Regions from separate parts of the Homo sapiens genome. Here regions 1 and 2 are each linked to region 3. Evidence: promoter capture Hi-C in 16 types of primary human blood cells and fetal thymus (Javierre and others, 2016). All regions are on one chromosome and are shown on one strand. Each heading gives the region's core, a stretch centred on a gene start or on the middle of the fragment in contact. The rest is flanking DNA. Distances are from core to core; before and after follow the strand shown.

Region 1 (3,896 bases), core at 903-3,402, 330 kb after region 3:
AGGTCAGGAGTTTGAGACCAGCCTGCCCAAGATGGTGAAACCCCGTCTCTACTAAAAGTACAAAAATTAACCAGGTGTGGTGGCGTGTGCTTGTAATCCCAGCTACTTGGGTGGCTGAGGCAGGAGAATTGCTTGAACCCAGGAGGCAGAGGTTGCAGTGAGCCAAGATTGTGCCACTGTACTTCAGCCTGGGCGACAGAGCAAAACTCTGTCTCAAAGGAAAAAGAAAAAAAAAATTAAGTGCACTGGGGAGGTGAAGAAGCAGAATGCATGCCAGCTTTCCTGAATTTATTTGACCATGTTAATTTTGTCTCTTTTTTTTTTTTTTTTTTTGGATCATTTCCTTGGACTAGTTTAGTTTTGTTTAATTTCCTTTAGAAAATACTGCATTGTACTCTCATCCCTCTAGTTTTTATAATGTTAGTAGCACTTTTAAAATAATACCCCACAATGGCCAGGCACGGTGGCTCACGCCTGTAATCCTAGCACTTTGGGAGGCCAAGGCGGGCGGATCACGAGGTCAGGAGATCGAGACCATCCTGGCTAACACAGTGAAACCCCGTCTCTACTAAAAATACAAAAAACTAGCTGGGCATGGTGGTAGGTGCCTGTAGTCCCAGCTACTCGGGAGGCTGAGGCAGGAGAATGGCATGAACCCGGGAGGCGGAGCTTGCAGTGAGCCGAGATCACGCCACATGCCACTGCACTCCAGCCCGGGCAACAGAGCGAGACTCCACCTCAAAAAAAAAAAATACCCCACAATTAGTTGGGCGTGGTGTGCACCTGTAGTCCTAGCTACTCAGGAGGCTGAGGTGGGAGGACTACTGGAATCCAGAAGGTCGAGGCTGCAGTGAGCCATGATTGCACCACTGCACTCCAGCCTGAGTGACAGAGTAAGGCCCTGTCTCAAAAAATTAATAATAACAATCATACCTATGGTTGTCATAATTTGTATTTTTTGAGTACTAGCAAGTAAGACTTTTTCCTTTGCTTCCTTTGTATAATGCCTGTTTCCTTCACATTTATCACTGCTTTCCGTTAAAATGTAATGTTTTATATTGTTTAGATGTTAATGCTTTGCTGTTGGTCTTGCAAATATTTTTCTCTGTTTTCTTGTCAATAACTGAATATTTGTTTAGTCAAATCTGTGAGTCATCTTTTTCTTTGTTATTTCATCCTTTACTTAAAAGCTTCCTAAAGTAAGTGCCCATCTTCTGGAAAGAGTTGGTAATAATCTTTGCTACTCTTTTTCTGATGACACACAAAAAATGAAATTCTGTAATTTCCTTTCATGCTGTTTGATTTCAGCTGAAGCTTTGGATGCAGTCGGGACATACCTATGGGTCAGTTCCTGGAACACTAAGCTCAGAAGGAGCTGTGATCAAGAATTAAAATCAAAGGCAAAGACATAAACTCTTAGAGACTGATTGGAGCAGTAGGACACTCTGTGTTCCTTGTCTCTTTGAGGCGATGGGAACTGCATATTCCCCTGAAGGAACTGGACATTGGTTTTGGAGACAGTTTTGCCCCTGACTTTGACCAAGGGCACTTCAAAATCAGAGTGCCCGAACGATCTCCTCCTGAAACCTGCTCTTTTTCTTCATGTTCTCTGAGCTGGTTGGTGACCTGGTAGAGACTTAGTGCATGCATCCATGTCTTATTTGGCATCTTTATTTCCTCATACACAATTGGCTCCCAAAACTTGCCCTGACTCTGTCTCCTCTTTTCATTTTCTCTGGGGCCACTGGGACCTCCTCCTTTTCCAGACCATCCATGGGTCCACCAGTTCATCTCCATCCTTTCAGCCTGTCCTCCATGGCCCGTCCTTGACACCCTGCCCATAGTCATCTTCTAAAAACACAGGTCTTTTAGACAGGTCAGCAGCTTTACTGTGGTCTCCATTTCTGACAAAGTCAGATAGGAATCACCGTTGTCCCCTCTGTAATTGTTGTCCCCTCTGTAATTTTCCCCTCTGTAATCTCCTAAGCTATGTTACCTGCCTCGTCTTCCCTCCCTCGCCACGTACGTGTGTGGGTAGACACACAGGCCCACACATCTGCCATCCCTGATTCCCGCTTTTCTCTGATCTGCAGTATTACCGGGCCCTTGCAAATGCTTTGCCCCAGCACCATTGCTTCCATTGTGAGGCGTCCAGACGAGCATGGCACCCATCCCCTTCTTGTCCAGCCACCCCTGCAGCTCTGTTTGGAACACCTCCTCCTTTTCCATGCTGTGTCGGCTCTGCTTGTCTCCTCTTGCTCTTTTTATTGTGGCACTGTTTAGTAGTCATCTTTTGTTCTTTTGAGGGGCATTTATTGAGCAACTGGCTTGTGCAGAGCATAGGGAGGGAGATGTACCAAAAGGAGACGGACACGCACCTGGGAGTCCTGGTTCAAATCTGTGAGCTCCTCCCTGTGAGGGGTGCCCCGTTAACCTTGATGAGACTCAGCTACTGACTTTTTAAATCAAGAGTGTCCAATCTTTTGGCTTCCCTGGGCCACACTGGAAGAGTTGTCTTGAGCCACACATAAAATACACTAACACTAACGATAGCTGATAAGCTAAAATGAAAAAGTTACGAAAAAATACCTCATAATGTGTTTTTATTTTTTTTTTTTTCTGAGACGGAGTCTCTCTCTGTTTGTTGCCCAGGCTGGAGTGTAGTGCCGCGATTTTGGCTCACTGCAACCTTCACCTCTGGGGTTCAAGCACTTCTCCCACCTCAGCCTCTAGTAGCTGAGATTACAGGTGCCTGCTACCACACCTGGCTAATTTTTGTATTTTTAGTAGAGACTTGGTTTCACCATGTTGGCCTGGCTGATCTGGAACTCCTGACCTCAAATGATCAGCCCGCCTCAGCCTCCCAAAGTGCTAGGATTACAGGCGTGAGCCACTACGCCCAGGCCCTCTTATAATGTTTTAAGAAAGTTTACGAATTTGTGTTGCGCTGCATCCAGAGCCCAGGGCCATCCTGGGCCACATGTGGTTGGACAAGCTTGCTTTAAAGTGAGGATCATGAGGACTTTTTTTTGCATCGGTGAAATAGTGTGACATATCGTGCCTGGGGCTCTGTTTAATGAGAGTGACTTGATAAATGGTGGGGCTGAACCGTGGAATTCACATGGAAGTAGTGGGAGTGGTGGTCCATTCTAATGAAGAAAATGATTTGGACAGCTGACTTGGGAATTCTCAAGGCCTCTGACCAGTGAGATCAGAAATGCTTGGCCTGAGTGCAAAAACTTAACATCAAATGTGGTTTGTCCTAGGAACAGTTGGGACCCTAGGAGGCAGCGGCAGTTGTCAATGAGCTCTGCAGACAGTGCGGACGCTAAGCGGACTCGAGAGGAAGGGAAGGACTGGGCTGAAGCAGTGGGTGCGTCCCGTGTGGTCCGAAAGGCGCCAGACCCTCAGCCACCGCCCAGGAAGCTTCATGGCTGGGCACCAGGCCCTGACTACCAGGTACCAAGGGCCCTTGGCTGTCCTGTGTATTTGTACTTCATTGAGTTGGGTGGCTGGGTTTCTGAGAAGTCCTAAGTGGGCATTTCTTTTTCATTTTTATATTTCTTCTTTTGTTAAAATGTTTTTTCATAGAGACAGGGTCTCACTATGTTGCCCAGGCTTGTCTCAAACTCCAGCTCAAGTGATGCCAAAGTGCTAGGATTACAGGTGTGAGCCACCATGCCCGGCTGTTCTTACTTTTTTTAAGATAAGGTCTTGCTCTATCCTTCACCTCCCACCCTCAAGCGATCCTCCCACCTCAGCCTCCTGAGTAGCTGGGACTACCTGTGTGCTGCCACACCTGGCTCATTTCATTCATTTTTTGTAGAGACGAGGTCTTACTATGTTGCCCAGGCTAGTCTTGAGCTCGTGGGCTCAAGGGATCCTCCTACCTCAGC
Region 2 (3,836 bases), core at 1,206-3,705, 280 kb after region 3:
TTTTGAGATAGGGTCTCACTGTCGCCCAGGCTGGAGTGCAGTGGCACGATCTTGGCTCACTGCAACCTCAGCCTCTTGTGTAGCTGGGATTACAGGCACACGCCACCACACCCAGCTAATTTTTGTATTTTTTTGTAGAGACGGGGTTTCACCATGTTGGCTAGTCTGGTGTCGAACTCCTGGCCTTAAGTGGTTTGCTTACCTCAGCCTCCCAAAGTGCTGGGATTACCGGCATGAGCCACCGTGCCTGGCCTAGTTTTTGTATATTTTATTTTATTTTATTGAGACAGAGTTTTGATGTTGCCCAGGCTGGAGTGCAATGGCGCGATCTCGGCTCACTGCAGCCTCTGCTTCCTGGGTTTAAGAGATTCTCCTGCCTCAGCCTCCCGAGTAGCTGGGATTACAAGCGCCTGCCACCATGCCCAGCTAATTTTTGTATTTTTAGTGGAGACGGGGTTTCACCATGTTGGCCAGGCTGGTCTCGAACCCCTGACTTCAGGTGATCTGCCCACCTCGACTTCCCAAAGTGCTGGGATTACAGGCGTGAGCCACTGTGCTTGGTCTAATTTTTGTATTATTGTTATTATTTTTGAGACAGAGTCTCGTTATGTCTCCCAGGCTGGAGTGCAATGGCACGATCTCGGCTCACTGCACCTCTACCTCCCGGGTTCAAGCGATTCTCCTGCCTCAGCCTCCTGAATAGCTGGGATTACAGGTCTGGCTAATTTTTGTATTTTTAGGAGAAACGGAGTTTCGCCATGTTGGCCAGGCTGGTCTCGAACTCCTGAGCTCAAGCGATTTGCCTGCCTCGGCTTCCCAGAGTGCTGGAATTACAGCCATGTGTAATCCCATGGTGGCAATGTTGAGCCACCTTGCCCTGCCAACCATTTTACTTTCTTTCTGTGAAACCGAATACTCTTAAGTACCTCATGTAAGTGAGATCATCCAGTATTTGTCATTTTGTGTCTGGCTTATTTTTAGCATAGTATTTCCAAGGTTCATCCATGTTGCAGCATGTGTCAGAACTAACTTCATTCTTAAGGCAGAATAATATTCTCTTATTTGCATGTATCTACCACATTTTATTTATTCATTCAGCGACGGGCAGCAGCCTGTAGATAGTTTTGTTTTCATGTATTGAATGGTCCTTTCCCCCAGTGGAGTGAGTAAATGCATCCGGAAGCAGAATTCTGTTGTTTCCCATTCATCACTGTGTGCCAGGTGTCTGAGAAGGGGGTCTTATAGGAGCCCACGCAGAAACCAAGCTCACCTCAGTCTGGGTGTGGGGCAGTCAGGGAAGGCATTCTGGAAAATGTAGCTGACTCGAAATAAGCACCTATTGAAAATAGTGTGCTGAGCCCTGGAACATTAAAAATGTGTTCCTATGTGGAAATCAGAAATGTATGGGTCCCAGAAGAGAACTTGTGGGTCAGCCTGCTTTCCAGAGAGTGCCGAGGCCCTTTGAATGGTGAACATTATGCAAGCATTCTTGTATGGCCAGTGGCCAGCAGGGAGGAGGGCAGAGAATGACTGTGCCTCCGGGAAGCCGGCGTCAACTTCCCGACACGCTTCAGGATCATCTCTTTGTATAGAACCATGGGATGGATCGCTGCAGGACCTACTGGAAAAAGGAGGTCATCTCCAGGACTCTTTCCATGGGTCCTTTGTGTCTTGCAGAACTTTTTTCGGCAGGTGTTGTTTACATATGGTTCAGAGCTTAAAGAACAGCTGTGTTCCAGGCCAGGGCAGAAAGCACAGGCCTGTCTGGGAGGGGCATCATCACTCCTGCCTGCCTGCCCAACCGACCTGTCGGTGGACTGAATGGGCCAAGTGTTCAGAAGTCCTTGGGAAGAGGATAGTGTCCTGAATCATAATGTGGTATTTTCTGGTTTTTTGTTTGTTTGTTTGTTTTTGGTAAAATGTTAATTGCAGAAGTATACAGGTTATTTTATTTATTTATTTATTTTTTTTTGAGGTGGAGTCTTGCTCTGTTGCCCAGGCCGGAGTGCAGTGGCATGATCTCGGCTCACTGCAACCTCCACCTCCCAGGTTCAAGCAATTCCCCTGCCTCAGCCTCTTGAGTAGCTGGGAGTACAGGTGCATCCCGCCACGCCTGGCTAATTTTTTTTTGTATTTTAGTAGAGATGGGGTTTCGCCTTGTTGCCCAGGCTGGTCGCAAACTCCTGAGCTCAGGCCATCTGTCCACCTCAGCCTCCCAAAATGCTAGAATTACAGGCGTGAGCCACTGCGCCTGGCCCATACTTTAAAAAAAAAAAAAAAAACAAAATTAAAAGCCAAGTGTTTGAAGAGAAATGAAAGCTTTTCCCCAATGTCCCAGGCAGTAACCATTATTGATAAATTTGCTTTGTTTATCCTTCTAGGCTCAGTGCACGTATAAATATGGCCTCATGTAGGGAGGTTTTTTAAAAAACAAAAATGGGATATACTATATTGTATTGCAACTTGGCATTTTCAAAATATCACAGTATTTTTCCATACGTATTTTTAAGCGTAACTTCTCTTATTTTTATTTTCAGTAATACTTTTTTTTTCTTCCTTAGGGATGTGGGGGTGGGTCTCGCTATGTTGACCAAGCTTGTCTTGAACTCCTGGCCTCAAGCTGTCTTCCCATCTTGGCCTCTGAAAGTGCTAGGATTACAGGTGTAAGCCACCACACCCAGCCATTTTTCCATATTCATGTGAACAGACCTGCCACACTAAGTGTTTTAAAAATAATGTTAGGTTTCTAAAAAATATACAGGTGTGTAAAAGAAGAAAAAATCGTTTATAATCCCATGGTTTAGATATTCCCAGTTGACTTTTTTTTTTTTTTTTTTTGGTGGTGGGGACAGAGTTTTGCTTGTTGCCCAGGAAGGCAATGGCGTGATCTTGGCTCACTGCAACCTCCGCCTCCTGGGTTCAAGCAATTCTTCTGCCTCAGCCTCCCTAGTAGCTGGGATTACAGGCATCCGCCACCATGCCTAGTTGATTTTTTTGTATTTTTAATAAAGACGAGATTTCACTATGTTGGCCAGGCTGGTCTCGAACTCTTGACCTCAGGCGAGCCACCCGCCTCAGCCTCCCAAAGTGCTGGGATTACAGGCGTGAGCCACTGCACCCGGCCCCCAGTTGACTTTTTAAAAAGAAAATTCAAGTTGCTCAGGGAGGTATAAAGGCTCTTCCCCACTCTCTCTGAAAAAAAAACCAGTGTGAGGAAGTTCTTGGGATTCCTCCCAGAAAAAAACCCACATTATCCACATGCACGTTTGTATTCTTCAAGCATGCTGCTGCCCTTTCACGTGATAAAATGTCTCAGCGTGCTCCCTGACAGCTACGCAGACGGATTATGTTATCTATTTTAGCAACTGCAGAGAATATTTTGTGGGTATACTTGATTTAACCTCTGTCTCCTACTGGTGGACATTTGGGCTATTTGTAGTTTTGGAATATTACACAATTTTGGTCAAACTGTACCAGATTTGTTTTCAAAAACATACAATTTGTATGTAAGCATGTAAGTGTGAGAATGTGGTTCTGCAGTGTGGACTCTTCAACTGAATAGCTTTTTGGTAAGAATTCTGCCAGATTTCTCTTCAGAAAACTTTGTATCAGCTTATATGTGTGAGCGTATGTTTCTGGACTATGGGCTTTTCTAAATGAACAGGCTTTTTGGATTGTTTTGGGTGTGCACATTTTCCAATCAAAAGCTACTGTTTGCGGCTTTCTGTGGTGAGCGTAGGGTCTGATGTTTTGGTGAGCTTGGGCAGACAGCGATCAGACACAGCAGCTCCGTTCACAGTGCAGAAGCGGCCACTGGAGGAGTTGCTCTGGGTGTC
Region 3 (3,801 bases), core at 623-3,122:
AAAAAAAAAAAGAACCTCTGTCCTAGAGCATTTATAATTCACTACAGAAATGTATTCTATGAAGGACTTTAATACCATCAGTCAGCCTTATCCAGACGATCTCAATTCTAATCCTGTCACCACCACTTTCTGACTGAGGGCTATTGGAGAATTTTCTCAACTTCTCTGTGCCTCCCTTACCTCATCAATTATTATTATGTATGTGTATGTGTGTGTGTGTATATATATATATATGTGTGTGTGTGTATATATATATGTGTGTGTGTGTGTGTATATATATATATATATATATATTTTTTTTTTTTTTTTTTTTTTTTTCTGAGACAGAGTCTCACTCTGTCACCCAGGCTGGAGTGCAGTGGCACAATCTTAGCTCACTGCAACCTCCACCTTTTGTGTTCATGCGATTCTCCTGCCTCAGCCTCCTGTATAGCTGGGAACACAGGCGTCCGCCACCACACCCGGCTAATTGTTGTATTTTTAGCAGAGACGGGGTTTCACCATGTTGGCCAGGCTGGTCTCGAGCTCCTGACCTCAGGTGTTCCACCCACCTCGGCCTCCCAAAGTACTGTGGTTACAGGCGTGAGCCACTGCTCCCAGCCTATTTTTATTTACTTTTTTTTTTTTTTTTTTTTTGAGACGGAGTCTCGCTCTTTCGCCCAGGCCAGACTGCAGTGGCGCTGTCTCTGCTCACTGCAACCTCCGCCTCCCGGGTTCACGCCATTCTCCTGCCTCAGCCTCCCGAGTAGCTGGGACTACAGGTGCCCGCCACCGCGCCCGGCTAATTTTTTGTATTTTTAGTAGAGTCGGGGTTTCACCGTGTTAGCCAGGATGGTCTCCATCTCCTGACCTCGTGATCCGCCCGCCTCGGCCTCGCAAAGTGCTGGGATTACAGGCGTGAGCCACCGCGCCCGGCCTTTTATTTACTTTTTGAGACAGGGCCTGGCTCTGTCACCCAGGCTGGAGTGCAATGGTGCAATCACAGCTCCCTGTAGCCTCAACCTCCTGGGCTCAGGCAATTCTCCCACCTCAGCCTCCCGAGTAGCTGAGACTACATACGCATGCCATCACTGCTGGCTAATTTTTGTGGTTTTGTTTTGTTTTTTATAGAGACGGGGTCTCGCCATGTTGCCGAGGCTGGTCTCAAACTCCTGGTCTCAAGCAATCCTCCTGTCTCCGCCTCCCAAGTGCTGGGATTATAGGCATGAGCCACCCGCGTCTCATCAATTAAATAAATAACCCCTAGGACGACTAAGATGTCTTCAAGATTACATGAGATCCCACATCTGAAGGTTTTTGCAAAGGACTTGGCACAAACTCGTGCGACTAGACATGGATATGGCTCTTGCTCTGGAAAGGATCACCTTGATAGGAGCAAACAAAGCTGGTCTTCGGTGCCCTTTAATCTCCCCTCCCAGCCTTCCACCTTCCACACTTTAAGAGTCGTCCCTGCCGACCCCCCGACCCCGTTTTTCTGAACCTCCCTTCCTCCCCTTGCATAGTCCAAAGCCTCTCTCTAAAGCAGCCCCCCGAAAACATCTGTCAAGTTCCAAACTTATCTGAATCGGAAGCTACCAATAGCCAACCTACATCTAAGGGGAACTGTAAGATTTCAGAAGAACAAGAAGCATAGGTCGCTTAGGCGTGGGCCACCCAAGAAGAGAGACTTAACACTAGGTAAGCCCGCGCTGGCTGCGAAGGCGGGAGCGGCACCAGGACCATCCAGGGCGCAGGCGCAGGGACCTCACGGCCACGCCACTACTCAGCCCGAGCTGGCCAATGGGGAGCGGCGGCCGGAAGAACGCGCGGCTTCGCTAGGTTCCGCGGCTTCCTCTGACCAAGCTTGACGTCACCAAAGCGCGCCGGAAATGCGAGGTCAACTGCGCGCCGCTGGCGCTGAGGGGAGGAAGTTTGCTGTCGAGCGGCCTGGGTTCCGTGGGCAAGGCCGTGGGAGGCAGCGTTGGCTGCTTCGACACACTGAGGGCGGCGCGATGGGAGACGAGATGGATGCCATGATTCCCGAGCGGGAGATGAAGGTCAGAGACTAACCGGGGCCTCCCTCCCTTCTTTAGTCCTGGCGTTGCCTTGGAGCCCAGCTGAAAGGCGAAGCGCGGTGCTGGCTGTCCCGCCTCCTGCTTGAACAGTTTACCGCGTTCACAGCTCTCACCAGCGCGTCTGCCGCGCCGCTGGCGTGATAGCCCCACCGAATGCAGTTTCCCAGTCCCATCCTGGTCTCGTGCACGGCTGTTGAGTTACCCTAGCTACTTCCTGGGGCGGTCACAATAGTGGCAATAACTGCTGTTTATTGAGTGTTGACTGTGTGCCAGGCACTGTGGTAGTCATCGCGGCAGCCCTACGAAGTAGTCGTTAACGTAGAGGAGTAAGTTGAGGCTCGGAAAGTAATTTCCCTAAAGTCACATTTGACGCGGGGCTGAAAGCCAGCATCATTTAAGACCTTTGCTCTCCCAGTACTTCTGTAAGGTGATACGGGCTTGCCTAACGTAGAGTCAGGGAAGGTCATCCATCCTGCAGAACCTTTAGTTGATTGGACTAGGAAGACTATTTTGACCTCGGTATATCAGCCTAAAGTCAGGAACCTAAAGGGAGGGCCAAGTGGTCCCAGTGATAGCAACGTGGGAGTCCCCCAGGGATAACTTCAGGATGGTGTGTTTAATAGTTCTTATATGGGTTCTGACAGAATGAGGGTACAACAGACGGGCTACATCTGTTTTAAATAGTGAAAAGAAGTAAGTTGCAGGAAGATTTTAGGCATCTGTGTGAACAATAAATCACTAAAATGCATTTAGGGCATAGTAATACCATGTTTAGAATAGTGATTTTTTTTTTTTTTTGAGACAGAGTCTTGCTCTGTCACCCAAGCTGGAGTGCAGTGGCATGATCTCGGCTCCCTGCAACCTCCACCTCCCCGGCTCAAGCGATTCTCCTGCTTCAACCTCCCTAGTAGCTGGTATTACAGGCGCCTGCCACCACGCCCCACTAATTTTTTATATCATTTGGTAGAGACTGGGTTTCACGATGTTGGCCAGGCTGGTCTCGAACTCCTGACCTAACGTGATCCGCCCTCCTCTGGCTCCCAAAGTGCTGGGATTATAGGCGTGAGCTACCGTGCTGTCCTAGAATAGTGATTATTTTTTGAGAATCACCACCTGTGGTGAGCCACCTAATGGGGTTGTGTCATATTCCTCAGATATGCTGGGGTAGAAGAAAAAAAGGTTTTATTAATAGAACCACAGACTTAGAAGATGGTAATCTCGCACTCCCTTTGGCAGCACATATAAAATTGGGATCATGCAGAGAAGACTATTATGGCCCCTTTACATGGATGACAGACAAATTCATGAAGTGTTCCATATCAGAAAAAAATGAGGGCCGAGTGTGGTGGCTCATGCCTGTGAGCTTGCACTTTGGGAGGCTGAGGTGGATGGATCACTTGAGGTCCGGAGTTCGAGACTAGCCTGGCCAACATAATGAAACCCTGTGTCTACTAAAAATACAAAAATTAGATGGCCATGGTGGCGGGTGCCTGTAATCCCAGCTACTTGGGAGTCTGAAGCAGGAGAATCGCTTGAACCTGGGAGGCAGAGGTTGCAGTGAGCCAAGATCGCTGCACTGCACTCCAGCCTGGACGACAGAGCGAGACTCCATCTCAAAAAAGAAAAAAAGACAATTGAGACAGACCTTGGTCTCAGTAATACATATTTTTGTTGTACTGAAATTGGGTCTACTGAATATAACATGTTTTAATTTCTTTCTTTATTGAATTGATCTCGTTTTGATTCT

The links. The method cuts DNA at HindIII sites, captures the fragments that hold promoters and counts their contacts. A CHiCAGO score of 5 or more calls a contact.
Region 1: a contact is called between a fragment that was not itself captured here and the fragment with the promoter of NUP214 in region 3, in 1 of 17 cell types (erythroblasts). The highest score is 5.3, in erythroblasts.
Region 2: a fragment that was not itself captured here is called in contact with the fragment with the promoter of NUP214 in region 3 in 1 of 17 cell types (erythroblasts); the score reaches 5.3 in erythroblasts.

The regions. Positions count from the first base shown.
Region 1 is chr9:131,455,898-131,459,793 of GRCh38, forward strand. It overlaps PRRC2B (proline rich coiled-coil 2B), which reads left to right. Exons shown (of 32, transcript NM_013318.4): 11 at 3,267-3,459. Among named protein-coding and RNA genes, the nearest start is that of SNORD62A, 28 kb to the right of the region's middle. The HindIII fragment of the contact is 1,681 bases long and covers 1,313-2,993 here.
Region 2 is chr9:131,401,398-131,405,233 of GRCh38, forward strand. The region is part of intron 1 of PRRC2B (proline rich coiled-coil 2B); the gene reads left to right. Among named protein-coding and RNA genes, the nearest start is that of PRRC2B, 9.2 kb to the left of the region's middle. RefSeq lists an enhancer at 1-861. The HindIII fragment of the contact is 276 bases long and covers 2,318-2,593 here.
Region 3 is chr9:131,123,714-131,127,514 of GRCh38, forward strand. It overlaps NUP214 (nucleoporin 214), which reads left to right and starts at 1,873. Exons shown (of 36, transcript NM_005085.4): 1 at 1,873-2,036. The coding sequence starts at 1,992. It also overlaps the pseudogene RNU6-881P. RefSeq lists an enhancer at 1,772-2,071. The HindIII fragment of the contact is 3,004 bases long and covers 1,841-3,801 here.